Linked DNA regions of Homo sapiens: all the other regions are linked to region 3. Evidence: promoter capture Hi-C in human tissues and cell types (Jung and others, 2019). All regions are on one chromosome and are shown on one strand. The core of a region is centred on a gene start or on the middle of the fragment in contact, and the rest is flanking DNA. Distances in the headings are between cores, read along the strand shown. Region 1 overlaps TFRC (transferrin receptor). Region 2 holds the start of SENP5 (SUMO specific peptidase 5). Region 3 holds the start of UBXN7 (UBX domain protein 7).

Evidence for each region. The method cuts DNA at HindIII sites, captures the fragments that hold promoters and counts their contacts. A contact is called where the count stands out against the background at its distance.
Region 1: a contact is called between a fragment that was not itself captured here and the fragment with the promoter of UBXN7 in region 3, in 1 of the 25 tissues and cell types used here (small bowel).
Region 2: the fragment with the promoter of SENP5 here is called in contact with the fragment with the promoter of UBXN7 in region 3 in 1 of the 25 tissues and cell types used here (dorsolateral prefrontal cortex).

Annotation. Positions count from the first base shown.
Region 1 is chr3:196,050,825-196,053,524 of GRCh38, forward strand. TFRC (transferrin receptor) reads right to left here. Exons shown (of 19, transcript NM_001128148.3): 18 at 2,594-2,700; 19 at 1-1,360. The coding sequence ends at 1,118. Among named protein-coding and RNA genes, the nearest start is that of TFRC, 30 kb to the right of the region's middle. The HindIII fragment of the contact is 8,502 bases long and covers 1-2,700 here.
Region 2 is chr3:196,866,635-196,869,334 of GRCh38, forward strand. SENP5 (SUMO specific peptidase 5) reads left to right here and starts at 1,286. Exons shown (of 10, transcript NM_152699.5): 1 at 1,286-1,439. RefSeq lists a silencer at 1,063-1,642 and an enhancer at 2,294-2,700. The HindIII fragment of the contact is 4,194 bases long and covers 1-2,700 here.
Region 3 is chr3:196,431,146-196,433,845 of GRCh38, forward strand. It overlaps UBXN7 (UBX domain protein 7), which reads right to left and starts at 1,282. Exons shown (of 11, transcript NM_015562.2): 1 at 1,182-1,282. The coding sequence starts at 1,254. It overlaps UBXN7-AS1 (UBXN7 antisense RNA 1), which reads left to right and starts at 240. Exons shown (of 2, transcript NR_046745.1): 1 at 240-296; 2 at 1,057-1,889. RefSeq lists enhancers at 39-813, 390-439, 814-1,587, 1,520-1,599 and silencers at 1,150-1,209, 1,230-1,479. The HindIII fragment of the contact is 10,299 bases long and covers 1-2,682 here.

The DNA of each region.
Region 1 (2,700 bases), core at 10-2,509, 380 kb before region 3:
AATCTTAGCTTCAACTTTATTCAATTACATTTGGCTGACGGCTGTTTTCTAAAACCCTTAAGTGTTGACCATAAATGCAAAACTTCCAGTATCTGTTGGGTTTTATTAGCAGATGCTGCTTTTATTTAAAAAAAACCGACAGTATAACTGTCATAATTATGGAAGGCACTGCTTCCGATAATTATATTCTATTAAAAAAACACCATTTATAGTGAACTCTGTCACTGATAAATAAACAATAAATATCTCAGTGCCAAAAGGACAGAAAGCTCTCCCCTAAGATTAACACTTTGGCCAAAATTTGGCAGCATATTATTCTTTAAAGTCTGACAAACTGAGTCTGCAACTAAACACCTGAAACTGGTTCTCTTTCAATGTGCTTTGGAAGAAACAAAAATAACAAAGAACTAAATGGAGGCTTATGGGGGAAGGGACAGAGGAAAAGAAAATATACTAAGTCTTTGGCTTCTGGTCCCCTCTTTTCATAAATGACACTGAGGTTAACATATTAAGGCCTTATTCCTGCAATCAACAGTTGAACCTCATTTTATCCAGCAGAAGGACCTCCATTTCAGACCTCATTGGCAAGAAAACAAGCCCATCTCTTCTGAAAGTTAACTGTTTCTTTCAGGAATGAGGAAACCAGCTACATTCCTTATGGAAAGGCTTAGATCTCATTTGGAGAAGGTCTTTCAACCTGGTATCTCCTATTTAGCATCAAATGAAGTTGGAGGATCACTCAAAGTAAGCGACCACTTACAACCTTCAGCAGAGACCAGCCCTTAGGATTCAGAGAGATCATTCACATAACTGGTTTCTGACATTTTCATTAACAACAACAGGAAAGAGGCAGTTCCCATTACAAAGCACTTAAAATTCTAGAGATAGGGGAATATTCCATCATGGACATTTTTTAAGTGGTTATTCACTTTAACTTGAAGTACAGGTTATCTACCCTGTATTAAAAGCTGCTGCCTAAAGACATCTAGTAGTACCAAGATGATGGGATGGAATTTTAACATCAGGTTTTGTAGCCCTACTGAAAATTTAGCACGATCAGCACAAGTCTAGAAACCAGACTACCCTGCTGTTCTCATGGAAGCTATGGGTATCACATTTAAAACTCATTGTCAATGTCCCAAACGTCACCAGAGAGGGCATTTGCAGCTCCCTGAATAGTCCAAGTAGCTAGAGCCAACTGGTTTCTGAACAGCGTTTCATTAAAAGCACCGTTATTTTGTTTACGCAGTTTCAAGTTCTCCAGTAAAGCTGGCAGCGTGTGAGAGCCGGAGCCCCAGAAGACATGTCGGAAAGGAGACTCTTTTGGAGATACGTAGGGAGAGAGGAAGTGATACTCCACCTACGAAAACAACACACAAGGCAATTTACACAGCCCTGTGACTTTTGTAGTAAAACAACAGTTCACTTCAAATGTAAAATGTCCCAAATTTAAGAATGCCGATCAGACTTTTTTTTTTTTTTTTTTTTTTTGACACAGAGTTTCGCTCTTGTTGCCCAGACTGGAGTGCAACAGCGCTATCTCGGCTCACTGGTACCCTCCACCTCCCGAGTTCAAGCAATTCATGCTGGGATTACAGGTGTGAGCCACCGTGCCCGGCTTTTTGTTGTTGTTGAGACAGAGTTTCGCTCTTGTTGCCCAGGCTGGAGTACAATGGCGCGATCTCAGCTCACTGCAACCTCCACCTCCCGGGTTCAAGTAATTCTCCTGCCTCAGCCTCCTGAGCAGCTGGAATTACAGGCATGCACCACCACGCCCAGCTAATTTTTGTATTTTTAGTAGAGATGGGGTTTCTCCATGTTGGTCAGGCTGGTCTTGAACTCCTGACCTCAGGTGATCCGCTTGCCTCGGCCTCCCAAAGTACTGGAATTACAGGCATGAGCCACTGTACCCAGCCAGCTGATCAGACTTTCTATAGCAGAGTAAGGAAAAAAGAATGCTGAGAACCAGGCTAATGCTAATCTTCTAAGGTTAAAATTCTAAAGGAGGCTAGGCACAGCGGCTCACGCTTGTAATACCAGCACTTTGGGAGGCCAAGGCAGGTGGATCACTTGAGGTTGGGAGTTCGAGACCGGCCTGGCTAACATGGTGAAACTCCGTTTCTACTAAAAATACAAAAAATGAGCCGGGCGTGGTGTTGGGCACCTGTAATCACAGCAACTCGGGAGGCTAAGGCAGGAGAATCACTTGAACCTGGGAGGTGGAGGGTGCAGTGAGCCGAGACCGTGCCATTGCACTCCAGCTTGGGCAACAACAGTGAAACTCTGTCTCAAAAAAAAAAAAAATTTTTTTAAAGGAAACTGATTCATTTTACAAAGGAAAACTTTAAATGTGTTCAGATTCTTTTCCCCATTGGAGCATACATGGAAGTTTTACAGCAAGTCTCTTCCAAAAAGACTAGGTTTGACTAAGTTCTGAATTAGACAGCAGAAACAGAAAATGACAGCTAAACCATTAATGCTCCCTTCTTAAAGGAATTCTAGACTCCTAGAGTTTGTCCACTTTGCAGAAGTGTAAGATTTATCGGTTATTTTACACATACTTTAGTTCCTCCTTTCCCAAAAGTTCACTTACTCTCATGACACGATCATTGAGTTTCTTCATGACAAATCTGTCTGTTTTCTCAGCATTCCCGAAATCTGTTGTTAGTCTGGAAGTAGCACGGAAGAAGTCTCCACGAG
Region 2 (2,700 bases), core at 36-2,535, 440 kb after region 3:
TGAGGCAGGAGAATGGCGTGAACCCGGGAGGCAGAGCTTGCAGTGAGCCGAGATGGCGCCACTGCACTGCAGCCTGGGCGACAGAGCGACACTCCTCTAAAAAAAAAAAAAAAATCACTGACAAAGAGAAACTGTTAAAAAGAAGTGAGAGGGCCTGGTGTGGTGGTTCACGCCTGTAATTCGAGCACTGTGGGAGGCCCAGGTGGGAGGATCACTTGAGCTCAGGGGTTCAAGACCAGCCTGGGCAACATAGGGAGATGTCATCGCTACAAAAATAATGATAGTAATAGTAATAAAAAATTAGCCGGGCGTGGTGCAGGAGCCTGTGGTCGCAGGTACCCTGGAAGATGAGGTGGGAGGATCGCTTGAGCCCAGGAGGCAGAGGTTACAGCGAGCCTAGGGTGTGCCACGGCACTCCGGCTTGGGCGAGACAGCAAGACCCTGTTTGGAAAAAAAAAAAAAAGAAAAGAAAAAAGAAAAAAAAATCAACAGTAATTGCAGCCATTGCTTAGAACTAAGACTAAACAAAGCTTTTGTTTGGAAAGGAGTACTTTTTCATTAACATTGTTTAGAATTTTCTGACACATGATGATAATTAAAAGCAAACCATCCTGCAGTTGGCTTCGGTATTGTTTTTATCTTCTCCACCATCAATGCATATCCTTACTGCCTACACAGGCTCTCAGCAACGCACTGTTGGTTTTCCATTGCAGTCACCTCCACTTTATTCTTCCAGATCGAGTATGTTCAAAACTGAACTCATCTTCCGCCATAAATCTGCTATTATTATGTTTTTGCCTGTCAGGACATCGGCTTATAATTTTGGAAAGCATTCACAGTTGGGGCGGGTAAGACATAGATAAAGAGGCCAATCACAATACCAGGGGTAAGATCAATAGGAAAACCAGAGAGCGGACGCCTGGGCCAGGCCTCACAACGTCCAGAGCTGGAATGGGTCTTTTGCTTTCGGCGCAGGGGTGACGGGATCAGCGGAGGGTAGGGGTGTACACTAGCTGCGGTCTGATTTAGCCCTTTTAGGTTAAAAGCTGGAGAAGGGGCTGAAGTCTCAAACGCGCTTAGCAGCTCCTGAACGCGGTTCCCATCCCAGCGCGTTCTGAGGGAGGCCGGGGCTAAGGACGCGGTGACGGGCGGGGGCGGGGCGGCCCCGGGTCGGGAGGCGGGGCGGGAGCGCCGGAAGCGGGCGGTGCCAGGCCCAGCCTCGCAGGCGGAAGGGCGCGGAGGAGGTGACGCGATAGGCCAGCGCCGGCGTCGCGGCAGCCGCTTCAGAGGAAGCTCGGCGGCTGTGGCCGCGGCGAACAGGCCGGACGCCTCGTCGCTGGCGGGGCTTCCCTTGGAGCTGACGAAGGCGGGGTCCGCGGTCCAGGCTGCTGCCGCGACGGGGCCGGCGGCGGGGCAGCTGCCAGGAACGAGGGTAGCAGGTAAGCGGGGACGCGGGCAGACGAGTGACGGACTCAGCGATCGCCTGGCGGGGCTGGCTGGGGCCATTCCCGCGCCGGTGCGCCACCTCAGCGCCCGGTCCGGAGGCCTCGAGCCGCCCTCCCCCGCCCGAGCTGGAGGCCGCCGTCCGTCTCGGCCACAGCCTCCCTTTCCGGGGGAGGCGAGCGAGCTCGTCCCGAGGGGCCGCTGCCCTGCGCTCTCGCTCCAGCCGGGCTGTGCGTCGCAGGCACCGGGAAGCTGGCGCCCCCCAGCTCCTCCTGAAGCCGGGAAAGCTCTGAGAGGAGGAGCCGCTGTCACAGGCCTCCAGCTCCGGCCGCCGTGGAAGTCCGGGGTTTTTATTTGCTTAGACCGCTCTGCCTCCTTCCGGCCTTCGTTTCTTTCCTCGCGCTCCCCGGGACCCTTTTCCAGAGAGCCCGGTTGGGCATGAGCGCGGTGGGAGACGTCTTTTCCCTTCGGTCTGCTCTGAGCGGTATCAGCCTCCGCTCTACGCCCTGTGGCCACTCTGTCGGGGTGGAGGGATGCGGAGAGGATGTGGGAGTTTTGGACTTAGAGCGAGAATAGCCGAGGTGAAATCCTACCCTGCTCTCTGGTAGTGTTTTTCATCTCATGCTAGATAGACATTTCGACCTTTTTCACCGCAGGTAAAGTGGGACTTTCTTCTACCAATGTAAATTATAATGTTTGGAGAATTAAATGAAGAAAGCAGACGTTAGTTATGAAATGTTTTGAGAATCTGGTTAAATTTAATTTAAGAATATCCAGGACACTTCATGATAGGTTCCTACTTATGTTTTTTTTTTGCATTTTGCCCGGAATAACTAAGCTTGGTATGGAAAAGGTTGCCTAGAGATGCCAGGCGCTCGTGTGGTCAGAGCCTAACTGCAGTCTCTGTTTTGGGTGGGCAGCATCAGGAAGAAACCAGACTCTCTCCTAGCCATCCACATGTCTCACGCTTATTGATGGCATATTATTGGTATATGAGGGATGGCTTATATCAGTTTTGATCTTTACTCAAGATAGCTTTTTCCCAGTGCATCTTTTCTAGGAGAAAAGCTTGGTATGTAGAGGAGGGTGCTGGGGAGGGGGGCTTCATTTACACCTGGGCTCACAATTTTTTTTTGGAGGGGGGACAGGGTCTCACTCTGACACCCAGCCTGGAGTGCAGTGGCGCGATCTTTTCAGCTCACTGCAACCTCCTCCTCCCAGGTTCAAGCGATTCTCCTGCCTCAGCCTCCAGAGTAG
Region 3 (2,700 bases), core at 32-2,531:
ACGTTAAACTCTAGGAACATTAACAGTGGAAACATTCTCCGCATCTAACAAATTACGAGATAAAGTATAGATCCGTTGAGAGGGAACTAACATTCTGACCTCCTTCCAAAACGACAAACTAGAACGGCAAAATTACACTCAGGCACATTGGAGTACTCTTCTCTCAAATCACTCCACAGAGAACTTCATCATTTGCTCCGCCCTCTAATAACTCATGCAAGAAAAGTTCAGCACCATCAGAGAGAAACAAGACAGAGAGAATTCATAGAATGGCTTTAGGGCCTTTCCTCCAGGCGGTAAGAGGATCTGCGTGTGTCCTTCGCAGGGGTCCAAAGGGAGAGAACCTAGGCCTAGGGTTTCGGGGATACCGACACCCAGAAACAGATTTTCTCTCAAAGAAGTTTCTGCCGCCATCCCTATCTTATCAGCAGGAGGCCCCGGCGCCATCGTCTCCGTCTTTATGATTTTATTATGGGGAGGTGGGAAACGCCACCCTGGATTCTTCCAGGCCTCCCCTATTCAGCTTGGGGGTTCCCCCTCATTCTTCCCTCAAAGCCTCAGTCCCTGAGGTCCTCCTCAGCACCCCCCGCTTCTGGCGGCCTGTCCCCCGTGAAGTGTAAAGGCACGGCCGAACCCACCGGCCTTGCCGTGAAGGCGGGAGGGCCCGAACCCGCCAGGGCCACGGCGATGGCTCCGAGGGGCCCAGAAAGGGGAAGGGCAGGCCGGGGACCGGGGCAGAATGACCTGGCCGGGGAAGAAAGGAAAAAAGGAGGTGAGGAGATGCACCGCACCGCAGGGCTGCACAGAGAAGGGAAGATGATGAAGGAGGAGGAGGAGGGCGGTGGCCCGGGTGCGGCCCCCTACTCCTCCCGCCCCCGGGTCCCCGGGCCGGCGGGGGCGGACGGACTCGGCCCATTCCCAGGTCTGGGCTGGCGGGGGGTTGGGGGATCTCCCTCCACGCTACTAGGAGACAGAGAACGAGGGTATCGGGAGCGGGGGGGGGCTGTCTCCCGCCTGAACCCGGAGACCCCGACGCCGTCGTCGCCTCTTCCTCAGGAGGGAGGACGGCAGCTGTGGGTAAAGCCCGAAGGAGGAATGCCTGAAGGTAAGGGGAAGCCCGGGGCAGACCCGCTGCCCGCTCCGGACCCCACTCTCCACCTTCCGGTAACCGCGTCTCTTACCGGTAATGGTGGTGAACTGTTGAATTAACCCCTTCAGCGCCGAGGACGCCGCGGAGCCCCCGTGGGCAGCCATCTTACCGCCGCCGCCGCCGCCGAACAACAACACAGACACACACGGACTGCCCTCCCCCACTTCGCCGTGCGGTGTGCGCAGGCGCATTGACCGCCCCTCGAGCCCCGCCCCTCCCGTCCCCAGCGGTCTGCGCAGGCGCATTTTCCGACCGGGCCCGCGCGCTCCCAGCTCTCGGGTTGGCTGCTCGGTTGCTGCCTGCTCAGTGCATCCTTTTTGCCATTGCTGGTGCCTTCCTCTCCGGGCTCCAAGGCTAGCCTCGCAGGCGCGGTGTCGATTCCTAGATTCCGAAGGAAGCTTCGGTCTCGGCAGATAGTTCTTCGCATTTCAGCTTCGCAAGCTTTATTGACAGAGCCAACTGCCGATGACAGCATTTTTCTGTTTTGCGGTTGTACCGCACTCTATTAGGTTTCCTGCAGGTCCCATCAAAATGCAAACCCTACCTCCTCGCTTTGAAGCGACTCTCCCCGTACTCGCCCCCCAGCCTCTAAACTAATGGCTTAGCTAACCGATTGCGACGAGTGAAATACCAGAACCCTTCATGCCAAAGAAAGCACTTAGCGCGGGGTTGCCACCCAGTAGGTTTTCATAAACGATTGTTTAGTCTGCTTTCCTTAAATAAATTGGCCATCACGTCTCCCGTTAGGGTCTTAATGAGACCCCAAGAGGCGTCATTTGTATAAAAAGAAACTCTGTATATGCAGTAGAGGAAAGAAAACATATAGAAAGGAGACTGGAAAAGTGTGCTCAAAACGCTGGTAACGGTTACCTCCAGAGAAGAGAACGATCGGGACGATGGTCAAAGCGGACCTTACTTCGAGTTTCTTATTTATCTTTTTATTTTTAAACAAACATTATTGGCCGGGCGCGGTGGCTCATGACTGTAATCCCAGCACTTTGGAAGGCCGAGGTGGGAGAATCGCTTGAGGCAAGGAGTTCGAGACCAGACTGGGAAATATATCAAGAATCCATCTCAAAAAAAAAAAAAAAAAAAAGATATTCGTGTGTTCCTTGAATAATTTTAAGTATTTTGCAAAACAGTTACATGAGTGGGGTGCGCTCAAATCCAATAATCCCCCACCTTGCCCATAAAGTTAAAAGAGATTCCAAGTGATTCCGTTTGTTTTAGCCTCCCACCTTCCAACCTCCACCCACATATTTTGCATCTTCATAGGAAAATGGCCCAATAAAAGATGGGATGAGCTGTCTGAAGAATTGACACATCCTAAGAGTAAACATGCTATTGGGGAGAATTAAGAAAGAGCCATGTCAAATCAAGGGGTATAGTTTTTTGTTTTGTTTTGTTTGACAGGGAGTCTCGCTCTGTCGCCCAGGCTGGAGTGCAGTGGTGCAATCTCAGTTTACTGAAAGCTCCGCCTCCCGGGTTCAAGCGATTCTCCTGCCTCAGCCTCCCAAGTAGCTGGGATTACAGGCACACGCCACCACGCC